Linked DNA regions of Homo sapiens: all the other regions are linked to region 4. Evidence: promoter capture Hi-C in 16 types of primary human blood cells and fetal thymus (Javierre and others, 2016). All regions are on one chromosome and are shown on one strand. Each heading gives the region's core, a stretch centred on a gene start or on the middle of the fragment in contact. The rest is flanking DNA. Distances are from core to core; before and after follow the strand shown.

What was found. Contacts are between HindIII fragments. The CHiCAGO score rates a contact against its expected background, and 5 or more counts as called.
Region 1: a fragment that was not itself captured here is called in contact with the fragment with the promoter of ZRANB2 in region 4 in 6 of 17 cell types (total CD4 T cells, naive CD8 T cells, total CD8 T cells and 3 more); the score reaches 18.2 in total CD4 T cells.
Region 2: a fragment that was not itself captured here is called in contact with the fragment with the promoter of ZRANB2 in region 4 in 4 of 17 cell types (activated CD4 T cells, naive CD4 T cells, non-activated CD4 T cells and 1 more); the score reaches 8.9 in activated CD4 T cells.
Region 3: a contact is called between a fragment that was not itself captured here and the fragment with the promoter of ZRANB2 in region 4, in 1 of 17 cell types (activated CD4 T cells). The highest score is 6.2, in activated CD4 T cells.
Region 5: a fragment that was not itself captured here is called in contact with the fragment with the promoter of ZRANB2 in region 4 in 1 of 17 cell types (non-activated CD4 T cells); the score reaches 6.0 in non-activated CD4 T cells.
Region 6: a fragment that was not itself captured here is called in contact with the fragment with the promoter of ZRANB2 in region 4 in 7 of 17 cell types (total CD8 T cells, total CD4 T cells, naive CD8 T cells and 4 more); the score reaches 23.2 in total CD8 T cells.
Region 7: a contact is called between a fragment that was not itself captured here and the fragment with the promoter of ZRANB2 in region 4, in 5 of 17 cell types (non-activated CD4 T cells, total CD8 T cells, naive CD8 T cells and 2 more). The highest score is 20.4, in non-activated CD4 T cells.

The regions. Positions count from the first base shown.
Region 1 is chr1:62,432,218-62,435,408 of GRCh38, reverse strand. No RefSeq gene overlaps it. Among named protein-coding and RNA genes, the nearest start is that of USP1, 3.2 kb to the left of the region's middle. The HindIII fragment of the contact is 3,951 bases long and covers 1-3,191 here.
Region 2 is chr1:77,970,005-77,972,998 of GRCh38, reverse strand. It overlaps FUBP1 (far upstream element binding protein 1), which reads left to right. Exons shown (of 20, transcript NM_003902.5): 2 at 2,984-2,994. Among named protein-coding and RNA genes, the nearest start is that of FUBP1, 7.6 kb to the left of the region's middle. The HindIII fragment of the contact is 4,235 bases long and covers 1-2,994 here.
Region 3 is chr1:63,328,043-63,330,960 of GRCh38, reverse strand. No RefSeq gene overlaps it. Among named protein-coding and RNA genes, the nearest start is that of MIR6068, 2.5 kb to the right of the region's middle. RefSeq lists an enhancer at 1-777. The HindIII fragment of the contact is 4,446 bases long and covers 1-2,918 here.
Region 4 is chr1:71,079,546-71,082,462 of GRCh38, reverse strand. ZRANB2 (zinc finger RANBP2-type containing 2) reads left to right here and starts at 1,428. Exons shown (of 10, transcript NM_203350.3): 1 at 1,428-1,523. The coding sequence starts at 1,468. ZRANB2-DT (ZRANB2 divergent transcript) reads right to left here and starts at 1,139. Exons shown (of 4, transcript NR_046217.1): 1 at 1,050-1,139. RefSeq lists an enhancer at 1,189-1,478. The HindIII fragment of the contact is 3,322 bases long and covers 1-1,573 here.
Region 5 is chr1:77,993,432-77,996,478 of GRCh38, reverse strand. It overlaps a transcript of DNAJB4 not described here. Among named protein-coding and RNA genes, the nearest start is that of DNAJB4, 10 kb to the left of the region's middle. The HindIII fragment of the contact is 2,170 bases long and covers 440-2,609 here.
Region 6 is chr1:77,951,143-77,954,439 of GRCh38, reverse strand. The region is part of intron 18 of FUBP1 (far upstream element binding protein 1); the gene reads left to right. Among named protein-coding and RNA genes, the nearest start is that of FUBP1, 26 kb to the left of the region's middle. RefSeq lists a silencer at 3,253-3,297. The HindIII fragment of the contact is 3,252 bases long and covers 1-3,029 here.
Region 7 is chr1:77,783,298-77,786,483 of GRCh38, reverse strand. It overlaps MIGA1 (mitoguardin 1), which reads right to left. Exons shown (of 16, transcript NM_001416120.1): 2 at 3,133-3,186. Among named protein-coding and RNA genes, the nearest start is that of MIGA1, 5.2 kb to the right of the region's middle. The HindIII fragment of the contact is 3,599 bases long and covers 1-3,097 here.

The DNA.
Region 1 (3,191 bases), core at 556-3,055, 8.6 Mb after region 4:
TACACGTTGACCTTCAAGAGTACAAGCAGGGTCGGGCGTGGTGGCTCACGCTTGTAATCCCAGCACGTTGGGAGGCCAAGGCGGGCTGATCTCTTGAGGTCGGGAATTCGAGACCAGCCTGACCAACATGGAGAAACCCCGTCCCTACTAAAAATACAAAATTAGCCGGGCGTGGTGGCGCAGGCCTGTAATCCCAGCTACTCCGGAGGCTGAGGCAGGAGAATCGCTTGAACCCAGGAGGCGGAGGTTGCGGTGAGCCGAGATCGCCTCACTGCACTCCAGCCTGGGCAACCAGAGCAAAACTCTGTCTCAAAAAAAGAAAAGTACCAGCGGAAAGGTCAGCCAAGATGCTGGTTCAATAAGCCAAGGAATAAATTATGGTAGTCTGGAATAAGATGGTGGGATGTTGAAAACTGGTAGGGTTCAAGATATATTTTGAGCACAGCCAACGAGCTCTACTGATGGATTGGCTGTATGATAATGTAAGAAAAAACAGGTCGGGTAGCCAGGGCCGGTGGACCGCTTGAACCCAGGAGTTCAAGATCAGCCTGGGCAACATGGCAAGACCCATCGCTACAAAAAACTCCAAAAATTGGCCGTGCGTGGTGGCACGTGCCTGTAGTCCCAGCCACTCGGGAGGATGAGGGAGGAGGATCCCCTGGCTGCAGTGAGCCGAGATGCACCACTGCACTCCAGCCTGGGCAACAGTGTGAGGCCCTGCCCTCCACCCTCCCACCCGAAAAAAGAAAAAAAAACAAAGAGTAACGATTTTTTTTTTAACCTGAGCAACTCAGTGTTGGTCCTTGCTAAAATGGGGGTCTTAGTAGGCTCAATGGGAAGGATCATCGTTCTTAGAATATTAAGATTGAGGTGTTTAACGTACAAACAGATGTTGAACCAGCAGATCACGAAATACACAAGGACAAGATTAGAAAATGTATATAGGTCAGTCTTAGCCATTGTGCACCACAGAGTGGCAGTGTCTCATTTTCTAGTACTAGCATAATTATTGCTACTTTCAAACTCTACGAGAACAGATAAGCAATTCTACTTTCCCATATTCCTGAGATCCTATTGTCTGCAGCCACTATTCTTCCTGTACACAATGTGTGGTATCAGTTAAGATTCATTTGCGGAAAATAGAATCCATTTTAGCTAGTATAAACACAAAGATATTGAATACTTGGGAGGGTTGATTAAATAGGCTCTAGATTAGTTTTTCAGGAATGAGTCCCAAAGTCTTCCCAGAACCAGGCCACCAAGGAAGCAATGACTCTTCTATGATCAGGAAATGACGTCTCTGAATCACACTGCTGCTGCCATGCCTAGGAAACCACCATCAGAAAGCTGCGTGCACCGCTGACCCTAGAACCACACTATACCCACTATGATCTGCACCAGTGCCATGCATATCCTACGTCCCGTCTGTCAAGGCCCACAGGACAAGTGGCTAGACACTGAGGTTTCTGCTAATGCTGCTTCAGAAAAATCAAACACCTCCACAACTGTGCTTGTCAACAGCAATAGCAGAAGTTTGGTGTGTCTCTGGCAATATGATTAATGTAAAAATTTAATATGCTTCTCATTCTTTTGCTTTCAGTCAGTTGTTTGTGGGAGAAATTCTAGCCACAGTTCTTGCCTAGATGAGTTTTTAAGCCCCGAAACTTTTTTCCCAGTTTCTGTGTGCTCCCCAGTTACCCCACTCTTAATGACAGCTAATCCCTTTGGAAACAATGGGATTTAATAGGTTCACAGCATTCTCAATCCTATATTTGTCAGTCTTGTGTGGGTAAATGCCAGGCATATTTCCTTCCAAAGTTTCACAGGCACTGTTTCTGTGTACAGTCATCCCTTGGTATCCATGGGGGATTGGTTCCAGGACCGTTATGGATATCAAAATCCGAGGATGCTCAAGTCCCATATATAAAATGGCATAGTATTTGCATACAACTTATGCACATCCCACCTATACTTTAAATCATCTCTAGATTACTTAATTACCTAATACAATGCCTACACATCATTCACATGGATTTAACATAGTATTTAACACTTGGCACGTGGCAAATTCAAGTTTTGCTTTTTGGAACTTTGTGTACCTTTTTCATAAGATTTTTTGATCTGTGGTTGGTTGAATCCATGTATATGGAACCCATGAATGTGGAGGGCCAACTGTACTTCAGTCTAAAGGTATAGAAGAAGTGTGGTTTTTTTCCGCCCTTTAAATCTTCAAATTATGAAACTTTTATTTTTATTTTTTTGAGATGGAGTCTTGCTCTGTCCCCCAGGCTGGAGTGCAATGGCATGATCTTGGCTCACTGCAACCTCCACCTCCTGGGTTCAAGCAATTCTCCTGCCTCAGCCTCCCAAGTAGCTGGGATTACTGGTGCCTGCCACGACGCCCAGCTAATTTTTGTATTTTTAATAGAGACGGGGTTTCACAGTGTTGGCCAGGCTAGTCTCGAACTCCTGACCTCGTGATCCGCCTCGGCCTCCCAAAGTGCTGAGATTACAGGCATGAACCACCACGTCCCGCCCAAATTATGAGACTTTTAATCCACTTGGATTACAGCAGAATTTCTCCTTTAGCAAAACTGTATTCTTTTCCATTTCTACATGCAAATTGGTTACTTCTGGCCTGAATTCATATCTCATAGAACTTGGTTTAAAGTGTCAAGAAAAAGCCAGCAAATACCAAGTTTATAGATATTTCCAGCCATTTCCCTTCGTGCCACAATTTTGATTGGCGTGTGATCTGTCTTCTAAAGCTGGCAACAGGTTTACCAAATGTCTGGCAACTGGAGAACAAAGGTCACCAGTTTTCCATCTTGCAGTATCTGAGTCTTTACCACCCACTGCCCAAATGCTTCCACTAAAAACCACATTTCTTTTAAGGTTATGTGTAGCACAAATTTATAGGAACCAAACTCTGCATCCGATAGGAATAGGTTTGTTTATAAGTAACAGAATATTTTTAAGTGTCCTTAGCTAAAATTAATATTCATGTCTTTATCATGTATACATAATGCAGAAGTAGGCAGTCTAGATTAGTATGGTGGTTCTGTGACCATCAGGGACCTAATTAATTTCTTCCATTCTCAACATGTGGCTTCTACCTTTCGGTCCTTTATAGCTGTTTAAATTCCAGCCATCATGTCTACAGTCCTATGCAGGAAAGAAAAAAGGACAGA
Region 2 (2,994 bases), core at 287-2,786, 6.9 Mb before region 4:
TGCTGTATTAGCGTTGAACTCCTGGCCTCAGCCAGTTCTCCCATCTCAGCTTCTGAAGTAGCTGGGGCTGCAGGTGCCACTGAGCCTGGCTTCTTTATTGGTATTTTTATTAAACACTTTTCTCTAATGTCTTTGTAACAGTTCTCAGTTTTTGAAATGCTGTTACTGTTTCTTTAGTGTGAACTGTCAACTTTCATTTTTTCTTTTCTTTTCTTTTCTTTTCTTTTTTTCTTTTTTGAGACAGAGTCTCGCTCTGTCACCCAGACTGGAGTGCAGTGGTGCGATCTTGGCTCACTGCGACCTCTGCCTCCCGGGTTCAAGTGATTCTCCTGCCTGAGCCTCCCGAGTAGCTGGAATTACAGGTGCGCACCACTGTGCCTGGCTAATTTTTTTTTTTTTTTTTTGTATTTTTAGTAGAGGTGGTGTTTCACCATGTCAGTCAGGCTGGTCTTGAACTCCTGAACTCATGATCCCCCCCGCCCTGCCTCGGCCTCCCAAAGTGCTGGGATTACAGGCATGAGCCACCACGCCTGGCCTCAGCTTTCATTTTCATTTGGTTAGTTTTTGAACTATTCAGTGGGTAAAGTTGTATAAATAAGTGTCTTTTCTCTGTATAGAAGTGTCTTGGAGTTCAAGGAGTGCTGCTTTGCAAACTCATAGAGTATTTATAAAAGCTAACTGCAGAAGGTATTCATAGGCTAAACCGTTTCCTATTCTTGGTAGCACCATTTTCTCTGGCCTGAAATACTTTCCTTCTACTATTAGTGCCTGTCGATACCCAGCAGTGTATTTACTTTCCTGAGGAACAATTCAAATGCTAAGTGCTTTAAGACCTAAGGGTGGAAAAGCAGTGTTTTCAGGCATTATTAGGAAAATAAGATTTAAATTAGACACCCAGAAACAAAAACAGGTTTGTAATTGGTAAAGTGAAAGATGGTTAAAGAAGGTTAGATTGACCAAAGCGAGAATTTACCTTTTTTTTTTTTTTTTTTTTGAGACAGAGTCTCATGCCGTTGCCCAGGCTGGAGTGCAGTGGCGTGATCTTGGCTCACCGTAACCTCCACTTCCTGGGTTCAAGCAGTTCTCCCACCTGAGCCTCCCGAGTAGCTGGGTGACATGCGCCACCACGCTCAGCTAATTTCTTTGTATTTTTAGTAGAGACTGGGTTTCTCCATGTTGGTCAGGCTGGTCTCGAACTCCTGACCTCAGTGATCTGCCCGCCTTGGCCTCCCAAAATGCTGGGATTACAGGCATGAGCCACTGTGTCCGGCTGAGAGTGTACCTTTTTTTTTTTTTATCAAGCAATCTAGTACTTGATCCTAATAATCTTTGTGGTAGGTGTTTGCATTTTTAGATGAGGAAAAGGGAAATCTATGAGTCCTAGGAAATACAGTTGGTATATGGGAACTGATATGTAATTAGACTTAAGTGATCCATGTTGAATTTATGACTTAAGCACTTAACTATAATCTTAACCTCTCCAGTTGTCTGATGAAGTTAGTATATGGGAACTGATACATAGACTTAAGTGATCCATGTTGAATTTATGACTTCAGCACTTAACTATAATTTTACCCTCTCCAGTTGTCTGATGATAATAAAAACTTGAAGCAGTTATCCATATGGGGATCTCTTTGGGGAATCCCAGTCACCAAAAGTTAGGTTTTCTTTAATATTTTTTCATGGAAGATTTCAAATATACTCAAAATTGAAAGAATTATATAATAAATTCTCATGAGCCCATCACACATCAATAATGAATGTACAGCATTGCAGTGTGGAGCTTGGCCTATTGCTGACCACTCAGCAATGTGGCAGAACCACTCCATGATTCCCCATGGAAATGGGAACTACTTCGGTTGTCCTTTTATAGAAAAATTCAGTAAGTATCTGCTGATTGTGCCCTACTTGTGACTTGAAGCCAGGTTTTTTTTTTTGTTTTTTATTTTTTTTGTTTTGTTTTGTTTGTAACAGTCTTGCTCTGTCATCCAAGAGGGGCATGATATTGGTGCACTGCAACCTCCACCTCCTGGGTTCAAGTGATTCTCGTGCCTCAGCCTCCCGAGTAGCTGGGACTATGGGCGTGCACCACCACACCTGGCTAATTTTTGTATTTAGTAGAGATGGAGTTTCATCATGTTGCCCAGGCTGCTCTCGAACTCCTGAGCTCAAGCAATCTACCCACCTCCACCTCCCAAAGTGCTAAGATTACAGGCATGAGCCACCATGACAGCAAAGCTGGGTATTTCTTAAATTGGTTCAGTCAGGTGCAATAAATTATTTGCCCTACTCTAAAATTTAAAAATCTTCTAAGAATTATGGTTTTGCAGCTGAGGTTTTTTTAAGACTCGAGCTCCCTGGACTCCTACATATATCCTTAGAACAACATTGTCCAATAGAAGTACAATGTGAGCCACATGTTTTGTTTAACCCAGCATATCCAAAATATTACCCCCTTTGCATGTGCTTAATATAAAAATTTAAGATGATTTATATTCCAGGTTTTCAATATTCAGTGAGTAATTTTACACTTAGAGCAAGTATCATTTCAGACTAGTCACATTTTGAGTACTCAATAACCACATATGGCTAGTGGCTACCTTACTAGATAGCATAGCCTTTGAGTCCCACAAAGTGTTCACATTCTATGTGTTTACACACATCTTTTGAAGTGTCATGACAGAGCCAGATAGGATCCAGATTTTCTTTAAATCTGGTCTCTCTTCCGGATTCCTAGTTGATTACTTCTTTGTTGCTTCTTATAGGGATGTATCAGAAGTTTAATAATCTTATGATTATTATGTTAACTGCCTGAAGTATTAATGGTAGCAATAAATTGAACTATAATTTTAATTTTTCAAGTAAATTTTCTTATGTGATACTAAATATTTCACATATACATGTATCAGGAAGTAAATGGGGGTAATTTAGTAATGAATAGTATATAATAGTTTATGATGGTATTTTTCTTTTTTTTTTTTAGATTGCAGCAAA
Region 3 (2,918 bases), core at 262-2,761, 7.8 Mb after region 4:
AAACAGTTCCCCAAACTCTTGAGAAAGACTTGATTTGATAAGTTAACAGCCTTCAAGATCCCCTATCCCCGCTCCCGTGGTGCGAAGCTGTTATTCATCAGACAAATAATTTAGATCGTCCCCTTTGTGCTCAGCAATGCTAGACGGTCAGGAACTCACCAGGAACTCAGAGGGCAACACTAATGACAATGGCTCATTAATTGGCACGGTGAGCTTCAAGAAGGAGCAACTGGTCTGGGCAGGGAGGCTCAGGAAGGCTTCGCGGAGGAGACGCTGCATCCCAGGGGTACCTCGAGAGCAAACAGAACATTTGGAGTTTAGGGTTGTTCTGGGGCTGACAAGAGAGCTCCCTGTGAACCTAGGCATGCGCCCCTTGCAGAAAGGGGTAACGGGCTTTTTTGGAGAAAATTGAGTCTTGCTTACTATCTGTTGAGAGGAAAGTGGGAGGGATGCAGGGAGGAAAAGAACCAAAGCTCTCCCCTTCAATAAGACGTGCACCGCAGCTCCGGTCCCTGGACCCCGGGAAGGAGCATGGCAAACGCGGAGTCCGCAGAGGCGGAAGCGGCGGGGCCGGGGATGGCGGAGAGTGTGCTTCTCGCTGCCGGTTCGCGGCCTGGGGTGGGGGGCACTCCAGTCCATCCCCCAGCCCGGATGGGTCGCCGGGGTCCTCGTGCTAGGGCTGTGGCTTAATTAAACCGTGGTAAACTTGCCCCTATTTCCCCCAGAGATCCCAGGCTGGGTCCTCTCGGCCTCCCAGGTTCACTCTGAGGGGATTTATTTTCCGTCGCGAGCCTCCCATGAGCGGGCAACTGAGTAGCCGCGGGACGGGGACGGGAGCAGAGGTCCCACCGCGCGCCCCGCTGCACGCCCAGCTCCGCGGCGGGTGCCTTTCACACCTGGGTTTCCTTCGTAATTAATTCGTATTCTCTTCTCCCTTCCCTCCCTCCAGGCAGGGGCAGCTGGAGTCCCGCAGGCCGAGCCCTCGAGGTTGGCACGGGGGTGATCTCGGCGTGGGCAGGGGGTTGGGGGCTCCCTTGGGGACCGATCCCCGACACGACAGCACTGTGGTTGGGCCGCTGGGCGAGGGGAGCTTCGGGCCTGCAGTTGCCGCCTTCTTTCTTCCCTCCCACATCACGAGGCAAGAAGGAAATGGGGCCGTCGGTCCCCGCAGAACCACTCATCGCCGGGCTAGAGGCGCCCAGGCAGCGGGGAGCCCCAGGGTCCAGGTCCACAGCCTTCCCGGAGCTGAGTTCCACCGGCCCGGCGCGTCTGTGTCTGTCTTTCCCTTCTCCTCTCAACCCTCCCCAATCTTCCTTGCCCCAGAGTCTGCTGTTTTTGTTTCCTCAAGTGGCGCCTTCTTGCTGGGTAAAGCACACTTTTTCCTCCTCCGAGTACTTCCATAGCTTGCACTTGGGCTGCTGAGTGACCCTGGGTAAGTCCCAGAACCTTCTGGGTGGGCCTGTGTGAAAAGAGGGCCTCCAGGGTGACCCCGGAGGCCACTTCTAATGCCGATATTCTAGGACTGTTTTTCTGAAGACGGGTTCGGAATTCAGCACCAGAGGACTCAGGCAAGAGAGTGAAGGTGTCCCTCTTCTTCCCCGCCTCACCCCTGATGGGATGGAGCTGTGTGCAAAAGCACAAATGATCTGGAGAAGAGCCTTAGGTAGCAGTTTTATGTTAAAATGGGGGAGGGGACCAATTTAATTCTGCATTTAGGAAAATTCTAATATATGACGGCACTTCGGGAAATAAAAATGAGATGGTTATGCTTTCTTACAGACACCCTGGCTAGTTTTACATTTCTTTTCAAATTTTGTTTTGTGTACCCCAGGGAGCAAAGAATGGCTTGTACATTCCTCAGAGGGCAAGGAGGGGGAGTGGCGAAGAGAGAAGTTGGCTCTGGGTGTAACTCTGCCAACTGTTGGAGGGCAGCAAGGGGAGGGTGGTCTTTTAAGTGAGTTTGGGATCTGGTTACCTTTAATTCGCCTCCCAGGCCGCATCTTGCACTAATGGGAGTCTGTCAGCGGTGGACTCAGATTTCCCCACTTGCCTCGGATAGTGGAAGCATAGGGGCAAACAGCAGAGTAGGCCGCTCTGCCAGAGAGAAGAGAGACGTATGCCCTGCCCCTGGAGCTGGGGGTGCAGGCTGAAGGATGGGTGGGCACCGAGAGCTTCTCCGCAGGCATAGTGAAAGGCCTACAGACCAGGAGGAAGCTCCACCTTTTAAAAGCCTCTTCTGGGGTGGGAGTTTCCTGGGATGGGTTCTGCAACCCCTCTTAGAAAAATCCACCTTTCATACCTAAAATCAAATGGTTCAGAACCGAGCCAATGTATTTGGCCGTGTACCAGTGCTTAGAACAGAGTTGTTTCTTCGTGCAGAAGCCATTAAAAAACACACTGTACACGCCCCCAGCACTTTACAGTTTATAAGACATTTTTCACTGACACCAACTCACCTAATTCTGTAAGCCCAGGTGACAGGCAGACTCATTCTCACTGTAGGGTCGAGGAAATGCAGTCATTGAAAGAAACCAAGCAGCTTGTCCAAAGTCACAGTTAGGAAATGCCTAATCCCTGTTGGAACGCCTTCTGCAAGGCCTTTCTCATCCCGCTTCTTCCTGTCGCCTCCTCCCTTGAAACAGACGGCTCCCCACAAGGTTCAGCCTGGCACTTTCAGAATGCCCTTCCAACCTCCTCCCTTCACTACTTTATTCTGCAGCTTGTACCACCGGGGACACAGGTGGAGTCCGGGGACACAAGGCTCTGGAACCCACTTTCTTTCAGATCACATACCCCTCAGGACAGTTTCTCAAGGGACTCACGTTAAAAATACCCACCTCTCACACACTCATGTCAGCCTTTCATGTTCTCACTACCAAGACTCACCCTATAAACCATGTGAAATAAATAACCTCAAA
Region 4 (2,917 bases), core at 179-2,678:
GTTCACACAACAGCACAATTGCCGAAAGTGGCATTTCTCAGAACATATCCCTATCATTAAGTGAGGCATGACTGTATATGCTGTATTCTAAAAAAAATTAATGCATTTATATACCAGAATCTATGCATAAGAATGCTCATACTGGTGTTGTTTGTAATACCAAGCCTGAGAAACAGAAGGAATAAACTGTCACAAAACCACAAAACGGAATAGTATCAGTATACATCAGTGCAAATAAAAGAATTACACCTATACACTTCTACATGCAACTACCTAGGATTAATTTAGAAGCATAATGAACAAAAAAAGAGTACAGAATCAACTATGCTTACACAGCTCATAAAATTAAACATACATGTATGTTAGGTTTTGAAGGGAAGGCAAGGATTAAAGAAAGAGAGGGTGGCTTAACAACAAATACAGGATTTATGTCCAGCATAAGACCTACAGAGGTGGGAGACCAGCTTAATGCCAGTGCCCGTTGCTTCTTACAGGCTGGGGTGATTTATAGGCCTGGGTGGGAGTGGTCTGGGGGGCCATGGCCTGCTTCCTGGGAACATGTTGATAAGGTGTTCCCAGGACGAGGCGGCTCTGGCCCTTGTTCCAGTGGAATGTGGTACTTTCTCCCAGCAGAGTATAAGAGGCAGCCTGTTTCTCACGCCCGAACCCCGTGGAATGTTTCACTTTGACTAAGGTCTGCAAAATGGCAGGGGGGCTTACAAAAATGGTGCAGTTTGGACTAACAACGTACATAAATTTTTAAAAAGCAAAAGAATAAATCCCAAATATGGGAAAGTGTTATCTGTGGAAGAAAGTAATGGGATGGTATCAGAAAAGACACTGGTAATTTAAACAGTGTTGACAATGTCTCAGTTTTAAAATTACCAGCTGGTTCCCATGTATAAGTTGCTTACTTATCTGTTACACCTATTTATGTATATATAAAAATAGGTTTCCAAACGACATCCCATGTGTATGAAATAACAGAATTTTTATGCCTTATTAAAATAATTTCTCTAAACACTTGAAGAGCCCGAGCCGCCTCTTACCCTAAACGAACCCCACGCCCCTGAATTGATCAGTCACTTCCGCCTCCACCTTTCCAGCTCCACCTAAGGAAGCGGAAGTACTTTACTCTTGGGTCCTCCCACCTGTAGGGGGCTCTCCGAGGCTTCTAGTGCCACGAAGGCCTCCTGCCTGGGTTGTCCTTATGGCGCCTGTGAGTTTAGTTCTAGAAAAGATATTTGTATTTTAACTTTTCCATCTAACAAACAGTAGCACAGGCATCTTAGTCTGGACAACAACGTACAAGCTGAATTCCTGGCTAGTTCCCTCATTATCAAACCCTGACACAGTAGTAGGCGCGAGTCAGGCAGTGTGGGGACAGCCCCGAGTTGCCGAAAGTCCCCGGCCCGTTTTCCTCCTGTGAAGACATAGCTGCGGGTGGCTGTGCTGGTGGCGTTCAAGATGTCGACCAAGAATTTCCGAGTCAGTGACGGGGACTGGATTTGCCCTGACAAAAAGTGAGTTCAAGAAGGGTCCTGAATTGGGACGGAGTTTGTTAGTGGAAGCTTTCCGAGGTCCGTCCGGCATTTTCCTTTTTTATGATTTTCTGTGCCTTAAGACGGGTTGAGGCGGCGAACCGCCAGTTCCCTGGCGGGAAGAAGGCTCCCAATCTCCTCACGAGAGAGGTCTTTCCGGGAGCCTTTGTTCTAGATATGTCTTCAGCGTTTCCTCGACATTACCTCCGCAAGGTAGCCTCTCTTTTTAGAGTGCGAGATGGCCTACCTTTTTGCCCCCACCCCCCTCCCCCGCCCCGGCCAGGTTTTAGCGATAGGAAACCTCTCCAGTCAGGCCAGCTTGGTGTTGGATCTCCCCCACGTGACTTTTCTCTGCAGAACTTTACTCTTGTTCACGGAAAATATTGCTTTCTCGCACTCGTCCTTTTGCCTCTTATAGTTCACCTTGTTTTGTATTTTTACTCAAACTTTTCCTCCATACTATTTTCCCCTTTTCCGGAAGCTCTACCCTCTTCGGTTTGGGAAATTCTGACATTTTCTTTGTGGATCATTTCTCCACAAGAATTGGGCTTTTCGCCTCCTTAGAGCCGAAAAGGAGGGAAGAGGCCTGTGTTTTTGCCTACTCAGCCCTTAAGATGCCTGCAGCAGAGAAGCACGTGTGTTAGTGGCTCTGCTTTTTGACATTGTTGCCAAAGCCAGTACTCGACTAGATAGTTAATCAGATTTTTTTTGAAGGGTGCACAAATAGGTGTATCTATTCGGAAATAACATGGAAAATAATTTAATGTACAACTCATGTTCACATAAAAGCCTTTTATTTGTTGTACCTAAGTTAGCCACAAATAGGTTTTGATTGTAAAAAGCAAAAACTTTGAAATAAACCTGGGTTTAGTTAAAATTCTATTACTTATTTAACTGCTAAAAAAGGAATAGAATTTTTTTTTTAATGAAAACATGAAATAACATGGATAGGGTGTGTAAACAGTGACGTGTAGCAAATTCTAATTGGTGGCTATTGATAGTAATTTGATATTAAGATGACCTGAAGGAGTAGTTCAAGCCTAACAAATGATACTGAATAGAACCAAAGTTATATGTTATGGATAGTATTGCTCTGAGTGGTAAGACATTATTGAAAACGTTCAAAAGATTTAGAACAACAACTTCTGACTTTGTTGTTACCTGTAAAATAATGTGCTTTTGTCAGTGTCTTTAATGACAGCACACCCAGAGGTAGGACTCTCAATGAGAGTTCATTTCAACTCATTTACAAATATATGAATAGAATGTTGTTTGTACAATATGTTTAAATGCAGGATAAATTTTCAGAGTATATTTTCCATGCTTAATGGAGTTAAAAGGAATATTTTTAGGGGAAAAACTTAACCTAAATATTA
Region 5 (3,047 bases), core at 275-2,774, 6.9 Mb before region 4:
ATTTTATACTTAAAAAAATAAATCAGCCAGGTGCAGTAGCTTACACCTGTAATCCCAGCACTTTAGAAGCACGAGGTGAGAGGATCACTTGAGCCCAGGAGTTTGAGACTAGCCTGGGTAACAAAGTGAGAATTCCATCCCTACAAAAAATTTACAAATCAGCCAGGCATGGTGGCATGTGCCTGTAGTCCCAGCTACTCAGGAGGCTCAGGCAGGGGGATGGCTTGGGTCCAGGAGGTCAAGGCTGCAGGTGAGCCGTGATCATGCCACTGTATTCAAACCTGAGTGACACAATAAGACCCTGTATCCAAAAAATATATATATCATTTCCTTTTTTGGGGAGTATAGAACTAACTTATTCTAACTGGGATGAATAAAATATTCAAGCAACAACTAGCCCTTCTTTGTTACCCTCTTTTACAATAAGTCCTTGAAAGCTTGCTAATGACTAGTGAATGTATGGCGAGCTAATATACTTTTCTGGCATTTTGAAATAATTTAAAGAGTTCTTTTTTTGTTTTGTTTTGTTTTTTGAGACAGAATCTCACTCTGTTGCCCAGGCTGGAGTGCAATGGCACAGTCTGGGCTCACTGTAACCTCCGCCTCCCGGGTTCAAGTGATTCTCCTATTTCAGCCTCCCAAGTAGCTGGGACTACAGGCATGTGCCACCACACCCAGCTAATTTAAAATAAAGTGTTCTTTACACTGATTTTAAACACTGAGTTAGGCCCAGGGTGATAGCTCACACTTGTAATCCCAGTACTTTAGGAAGCCAAGGCAAAAGGATCACTTGAGTCTAGGAGTTCAAGACCAGCTGAGCAACATAGTGAGACCTCGTATCTACAAAAAATAAAACAGATTAGCCAGATGTAGTGGCATGCACCTGTAGTCCTAGCTACTTGGGAGGCTGAGGCAGGAGGATCACTTGAGCCCAGGGAGATGAGGCTGCAATAAGCCATGATCACGACACCACTGCACTTCAAGCCTGGGCAACAGAGCAAGACTGTCTCAAAACCAAAAACACTGTATTAGCCAAAAAATTTTAAAAAGAGCTAGAGTTTCTACATCATTTTAAATGGGTCTTGATAAACTAATATTTCATTATAACATTTTGCCTGTGTTGAAAGATCACACTATTTAGACCAGTGCTGTCCAACAGAAATATAAAGCAAGCTACAAATGCAAGCCACATTTCCAGAAACCATATTTTTTTAAAGTAAAAACAAACGTGAAATTAATTTTAATAATGTATTTTATTTAACCTAGTAAATCCAAAATATTATCATTGCAGCATATAATCAAAATACAAATTATCAATGAAATACTTTACATTCTTTATTTTTTGTACTAAATATTTGAAATACAGCATGTATTTTACACTTTGACCTCAATTCAGATAGGTACATTTCAGTAGCTTAAGAGTCTCATGTGGCTAGTGGCTACTGTGTTGGACAGTGCAGATCTAGTGGTTCCTTCTAGTCGGCAGTACTATAATCCAATTTTTCAGAAATCTCAGCCTGTGAATCTCAGCCCAAGTATACCACACATACATACCTCTCACATGCACATTTAGGGTAAATAAAGTCTTAACAGGTGAACTCTATTTTACTTATAAAATAGTACTACATTGTTCATCCATATAAACAATATGATAATTTTTTTCAAAATAATACTTTACACTTAAGGTAGTAGGAATGTATTTACACATGCTCAGTTGACATACACTTTCACAATGTTTAATTGTAAAAGCAACACTTGGAAATGAGGAATCTACGTGATTTTCACTTTTATCTTTTCTAAAATGTCTCTTCTCATACTCTTTTCTTATATGTGGCCTGAGATGTCATCTTAATTGGCTCATTAGAAAAATGAGAGTAGTTAAAAAAAAAAAAAAAGAGAGAGAGTAGTTTAAGGAGTACACAGAAAAAAAATGTCTGTAGCCCAAGAGGAGGAGAGGATATGCAGCTGTTTCATTGAATTATTAGGCTCTTAGCCAAGACTGCAACAAACTGATTATTTAGCAAGTTTGTTTAGCTAATTGTTTACAATTCTCAAATAATTTTTTTCTTTTTTTTTTTTTTTTGAGACAGTCTTGCTCTGTCACCCAGGCTAGAGTGCAGTGGTTTCATTATGGCTCACTGCAGTCTCAGCCTCCGGGGCTCAAGTAGTCCTCCCAACTCAGCCTCCCAAATAGCTGGGACTACAGGCATGTGCCACCATGTCTAGCTATTTTTTCTTTTGTAGAGATAGGGTCTCCCTATTTTGCTTAGGCTAGTCTTGAACTCCTGGGCTCAAGCTATCTTCCCACCTCCGCCTCCCAAAGTGCTAGGATTACAGGTGTGAGCCATTGTGCCTGGCCTCTCAAATGATTTAATTTAAATCAGTACCAAACTTTAACTATGAATTAACTTTATCGTATACTGCATCCATTAAAACATAATCACGAAACCACTGCTACCATGGAGACTTAACTATGATTCGAAGACTTTAATAATGGCTACCAAATATAAGTATTAGAACATTTATATAAATAAGCCCGTATGTCCTATAGTATTTACCAACTACTATAAAATTCAGCCATTGACTACCTAATTCCAAATGCATAAGCTTGAACTATTATAATTGTCTAAAGAAGGATATTTAGAGAAAAATATATCTCTAAAATAAATTAACTGTAAATGGATGGGTTTTAATGTTCAAGTTATTAATATTTCAAAAATATAAACTTTTTGTTATCTAGGTCAAATCAGCATATCAAGCCAACCATTACTGAGACCCCACTGTGCTATACTGTTACATGTAACATGAAGGATAAAACAGTATAATACATAGTCCCTACCCTTAAGGAGTTTATACTATAAATAAGTCAGGCACGGTGGCTCATGCCTATATCCCAGCACCTTAGAAGGCCAAGGAGGGCGGATCAATTGAGGTCAGGAGTTCGAGACCAGCCTGGCCAACGTGGTGAAACCCTATCTCTACTAAAAATACAAAAAAATTAGCCAGATGTGGTGGCACACACTTGTAGTCCCAGCTACTTGGGAGGC
Region 6 (3,297 bases), core at 154-2,653, 6.9 Mb before region 4:
AATTGTTTTTCCTCTTAGAATGGCTTCCTAGGAGAGTCATGTTCCGTCTCTTTCTGAGGCTTTAACAGATTATGTTTTTGTGACCTAGCTTAGGCAGATCTACAGTAGCTACAATTCGGCAAAAAGAAACTTTTAACTTAAAAACAGCATACTCTGATTAAGGTTGGTTACATAATTTATTTTCTGAACTGGGATCCTTTTTAGAATGAATAGGGATGCTATTAATAATCATGCCCTGACAGCATTGTGGTCAGGACCTGTAATCAACTTAACTTTAATTAAATAGCATCACCATTTTAAAAGACTTGAGCATGAGCCACGTGCGGTGGCACACACTTGTAGTCCCAGCTGCTTGGGAGGCTAAGGTGGAAGGATTCCTTGAACACAGGAGATTGAGGCCAGCCTTGGCATCATAGTGAGACCTGGTCACGTGTTTGGGTTAAAAATCACTAACTTCAACTTCTATTTTCTCAATGGGTAATGTCCCCTAGATAGGGTCCCTAGTTATTATTAAGTAGGTAAAAATAAAGGCTTGTTAATGGATTTAGGTAATTATGGAGGAATGAGTTTGGCTTCTGTGCTTTATTTTACCATATTGATTATTTGTAATATGGCCATTAATACATTTACTGTTTAGTCTTTTTTGTTTTACTTTTTATGTTTTACTCAAAATGAGTGGGTGGGTGGAATTCTAATTTTTATTGTTAAGGGAAGACATTTTACCTTGTCTTTAATTTTTTATTTTTTTTTACCATTTCCCTGCCAGTTAGAGATACTATACTATACTGTCTTGAATCCTCTGTAGGAAAACATGGCATAGAAATAATTAAATAATAATTAGATGTTAAATAATAATGCTGTATGACTAAAGAACCTCCTTACCCCACCTTTTCTGTTGTTGTTCTGTAGTACCACAATAATCACTTGTTAATTTTATTTATTTATTTATTTGAGAGGGAGTCTCACTCTCGCCCAGGCTGGAGTGCGGTGGCGCAATCTCAGCTCACTGCAACCTCCGCCTCCCAGGTTCAAGCGATTCTCCGGCCTCATACTCCCAAGTAGCTGGGATTACAGGCGCCTGCTACCACATCCGGCTGATTTTTTGTATATTTAGTAGATACGGGCTTTCATCATGTTGGCCAAGCTGGTCTCAAACTCCTGACCTCAGGTGATCCACCTGCCTCAGCCTTCCAAAGTGTTGGGATTATGGGTGTGAGCCACTGCACCCAGCCTCACCTGTTAATTTTATGAGCAAAACAGATTAGTTGGGCAAGTCCTTCACATGCATATCTCGTTGTTGTTGTTTTTTTTAAGACGGAGTCTTGGTCTTACTCCCCAAGCAATGGTGCGATTTCGTCTCAGTGCAACCTCTGCTTCCTGGGTTCAAGCTATTCTCCTGCCTCAACTTCCCAAGTAGCTGGGATTACAGGCGCCCAACCACACCCAGCTAATTTTTGTATTTTTAGTAGAGACAGAGTTTCACCATGTTGGCCAGGCTGGTCTCGAACTCCTGACCTCAGGTGATCCACCCGCCTCAGCCTCGCAAAGTGTTGGGATTACAGGTGTGAGCCACTGCGCCTGGCCACATGTGTATATCTTAAAGGAAATAATGCTAGGTAATTTAGTCAGGTGCTTGATGAGCATTTGTCATCATCATACGGAGTCAATTTGTCTTTTTCTATAAAAGTTCTTTTTGTAAATGATTAGTTGCTTAACTGCTTTAATTTCTTCTAGGTACCTTACCTGTCATCAGGATCTTTTTACCACAAATAAGAAACCTTAAAGCATAAAACTTGGTTCAGTCTTCACATTTCTTAAATGGAAGGAGAAAGGGAATAATAGGGAGATATCTTTATCTCAAAGCCAACTGTTGTTGACTTTTCCAGTGGCAGGGGTATGATGCTAGGACTTCAGATTTCCTGATTCCCCATCCTAGTGCCCCTTTTGCCAAACTAGGCAGGCTTTCACAGCTTTTGGAGCCTAATTTAAGTTTTTCTTGTTAAGAACAGAAAACTCCATTCATAGATTTTAATTTGTCATTATTTGCTTATTTACTGAAAAAAAAAAAAAACTATTGAAAACAGGTGTGGGTTAAGTTTCCCAAAATTAGGTTTATATTTCAAAACAATTCTAAGTTCCCAAGGATAACACCAAACTAAGAGGATAAATTTTTATTTTATTTTTTTTTATTTTATTTTTTTGAGATGGAGCCTTTCCCTGTCGCCCAGGCTGAAGTGCAGTGGCATGATCTCGGCTCACTTGCAGCATCCACCTCCCAGGTTGAAGCAATTCTTCTGCCTCAGCCTCCCAAGTAGAGAAAATCTTGATAAGATTTCAGAGGCTTATAAGGAACAGCAGTAAAGATGGGTGTTTTTAAAGCTAGAATACAGGGATTTTTTTAAGACCCTTAAGAGAACAAACAGGGTTTCAAAATAGAAAGGAGTAATTCTTGTTTGGAGAAGTGAAGACATTTGGGAAAAGTTTGACTTGAGGAAGGCCATTATGATAAGGACTGATGTGGTAGACTCTGAACCCTGAAGAATCTGGTACCTTAAGCCTAAAGGAGGGTAGAGTGAGGACTTGTGGGAAAGGTACAGTTATATGGGAAGACAACTGAGTGTGAAAATCTATTCATGCAAGGCTGGCTCTTAGGCTCTAATAGAATCTTGCAAGCTAACTCTAGAGCAAGTCTTTTATCTTTGGGATGAAAGAAATTTAAGGCTAAACTTTATACATTATAATTATAAAACTATAATAAATATTAGATAATGTTCTACTGAAGTATAAACTCAACTATCTGGCATCAAACAGTAACTAAGCCATGATCACACCACTGCCACTGTGTTCTGGCCTAGGTGACAGAGCAAGACCCTGTCTCAAAACAAAATCCAGTAACTAAAGAGAGGAATAAGGGGAGCGCAAGGTAAGGCAGTACATGTCTGAAGGGGCAGGGAAAGAGTTCTTTCTCTACTTCCAACTGGGCAAAATAAATCACATTTGCCCTTTAGATTGGAAGAGTGAAATAAGCTTTTCTTGAACATCTTTTAAGATTGGAGTGTCAAATATTACCAACTTATTTACCAAGAATTTGGTTTTTCTTAAAGTCTAAAGTGTTTACTATTAGCTTTCCACAGGGATATAGGAGTTTGCAGAGGTTGTAGTTTTTTAAGGGAACATCAATGAATTTTCTTGATGCATATGCCTGTTTCTACCATTTTACATTGTTAATTTGCCTCTAAAATGAGTAACTCTTACAATGGGGTTTAAAACCTGAAGACTATTGATTGCTACCTTGAT
Region 7 (3,186 bases), core at 49-2,548, 6.7 Mb before region 4:
CAGAGCACAAAAGTTTGGAAAATTTGCAACCTGACAATGCCATAGAAAAGAAAATTCCATTTTCTGAGAAGTTCAAGCAGGCTGCAGAAATTTGCATAAGTAAAGAGAAGCCAAATGTTAATCCCCAAGATAATGGGGAAAATGTCTCCAGGGCATGTCAGAGGTCTTCACGGCAGCCCCTCCCATCACCAGCCAGGAGGCCTAGGAGGAAAAAGTGGTTTCAGGGGCCAGGCCCAGTGTCCCCGTGCTGTGTGCAGCCTAGGGACTTGGTGCCCTGCATCCCAGCCACTCTAGCCATGGTTGAAAGGGGCCACCATAGAGCTTGGGCTGTGGCTTCAGAGGGTGCAAGCCACAAGCCTTAGCAACTTCCACATGGTGTTGAGGCTGCCAGTGCACAGAAATCAAGAATTGGAGTTTGGGAACCTCCACCTAGATTTCAGAAGATGTATGGAAATGCCTGGATGCCCAGGCAGAAGTTTGCTGCAGGGGTGGGCCCTCATGGAGAACCTCTGCTAGGGCAGTACAGAAGGGAAACATGGAGTCGGAGGCCCCACACAGAGTCCCTACTGGGGCACCGCCTAGTGCAGCTGTGAGAAGAGGGCCACCGTCCTCCAGACCCCAGAATGATAGATCCACCAACAGCTTGCACCATACACCTGGGAAAGCCACAGACATTCAATGCCAGCCCATAAAAGCAGCCGGGAGGGAGGCTGTACCCTGCAAAGCCACAAGGGCAGAGCTACCTACGACCATGGGAACCCACCTCTTGCATCAGCATGACCTGGATGTGAGACATGGAGTCAAAAGAGATCATTTTGGAACTTTAATATTTGACTGCCCTGGCCGGGTGCAGTGGCTCACACCTGTAATCCCAGTACTTTGGGAGGCCAAGGCAGGCAGATCACCTGAGGTCAGCAGTTCAAGACCAGCCTGACCAACATGGAGAAACCCCATCTCTACTAAAAATACAAAACTAGCCAGGCGTGGTGGCACATGTCTGTAATCCCAGCTACTCAGGAGGCTGAGGCAGGAGAATCGCTTGAACTCGGGAGGCAGAGGTTGCGGTGAGCCAAGATTGTACCATTGCACTTCAGCCTGGGCAACAAGAGCCAAACTCCCTCTCAAAAAAAAAAAAAAATTTTTGACTGCCCTGCTGGATTTCAAACTTGCATGGGGCCTGTAGCTCCTTTGTTTTGGCCAATTTTTCCCATTCGGAATAGCCATATTTACCCAATGCCCATACCCCCATTCTATCTAGGAAGTAACTAATTTGCTTTTGATTTTACAGGCTTATAGGTGGAAGGGACTTGCCTTGTCTCAGATGAGACTTTGGACTGTGGACTTTTGAGTTAATGCTGAAATGAGTCAAGACTTTGAGGGACTGTTGGGAAGGCATGATTGCTTCTGAAATGTGAGGACATGAGATTTGGGAGGGGCCAGGAGCAGAATGATATGGTTTGGCTGTGTCCCCACCCAAATCTCATCTTGAATTCCCACGTGTTGTGGGAGGGACCCAATGGTAGGTAACTGAATCATGGGGACAAGTCCTTCCCTTGCTGTTCTCATGATAATGAGTAAGTGTCACAATATCTGACAGTTTCAAAAATGGGAGTTTTTTTGCACAAGCTCTTGTCTGCCGCCATATGAGATGTGATTTTCACCTTCCACCATGATTGTGAGACCTCCCCAGCCATGTGGAACTGTGAGTCCAATAAACGTCTTTCTTTTGTAAATTGCCCAGTCTTGGGTATATCTTTATCAGCAGCATGAAAACGGACTAATATAACCTCATACCTATTAGGATGGCTACTATCAATGAAATAGAAAATAACAAGCATTGATGAGGATGTGGAAAAACTGTGCACTATGTGGAAAAACTGTGCACTATTGGTAGAAACGTAAAGTGGTACAGCTACTGTGAAAAACAGTATGGCAGTTCCTCAAAAAATTAAAAATAGGGCTGGGTGAACCAGCTGACACCTATAATCCCAGTACTTTAGGAGGTCAAAGTGAGAGGATGATTTGAGGCCAGGAGTTCAAGACCAGCCTGGTCAACATGCTGAGACTCTGTCTCTTCAAAAAATTTAAAAACTGGTGGAGAGATGGTGGCACATGCCTGTAGTCCCAGCTACTTGAGAGGCTGAAGTGGGAGGATTGCTTGACCCCAGGAGTTTGAGGCTGCAGTGAGCTATGATCTTGCCACTGTACTCCAAAGCAAGACCCTGCCTCTAAAAAATAATAATAAATAAATAAATACATAAATAAATAAATTTAATTAAAAGTAGAATTACTGTATGATCCAGCAATTTCACTTGACACAAAATAATTAAAAGCAGGATCTCAAAGAGATATTTGTATGTCCATGTTTATAGCAGCATTATTCACAATAGCAAAAACATGGACGCAATCCAATGTCCATCAACAAACACACACATAAGCAAAATGTAGTATATCCACACAACGAAATATTATTCTACCTTAAAAAGAAAGGAAATGCTGACATATGCTACAACATGGATGAACCTTGAGGACATTATGCTAAGTAAAGTGAGCTAGTCACAAAAAAATTCTGTAGGGTTCTACTTGTGAGGTACCTGGTCGAATTCATACAGACAGGAAACAGAATGGTGGTGGGGAATGACGGGAAGGAGGTACAGTAAGATGTTGATAAACAGTTGTAGAGTTTGAGTTTTGCAAGATGAAAAAAATTCTGGATATTGTTTGTACAACAATGTGAATGTACTTAAGGCTAATGAACTATACACTTAAAAATGATCAAAATGGTCAATTTTATGTTATTTGTACCTTACCACAATAAAATTTAAAGGATTGTTAATAGTGAGAACAGGCCTACTGGAATAACATAATTCACTGAAAGTAATAATAATGGACTATGTAAGTTTGCTTAAGACAGAAAAAAATTTTTAAGTAACATAACCTTTTTTTAAGAGTTACAATAACCAAAACCAAAAACAAAAACCCGTGAAATAACCAAGTAGGTTTTTTAACTACTGTAATAAATATTTTGACTGTACTATATAGAAACCTCAAATAAAACTGAAATAATGTAAACAAAATATGCTCTGAGCAATAAGCTTAATATTCAACTTCCTGTTTGCTTCTTTTATTTACCTGGGAGAGAGAATAGTACCAAGTCAGAGGAAGATCAAACACTCTTAGCGCTGC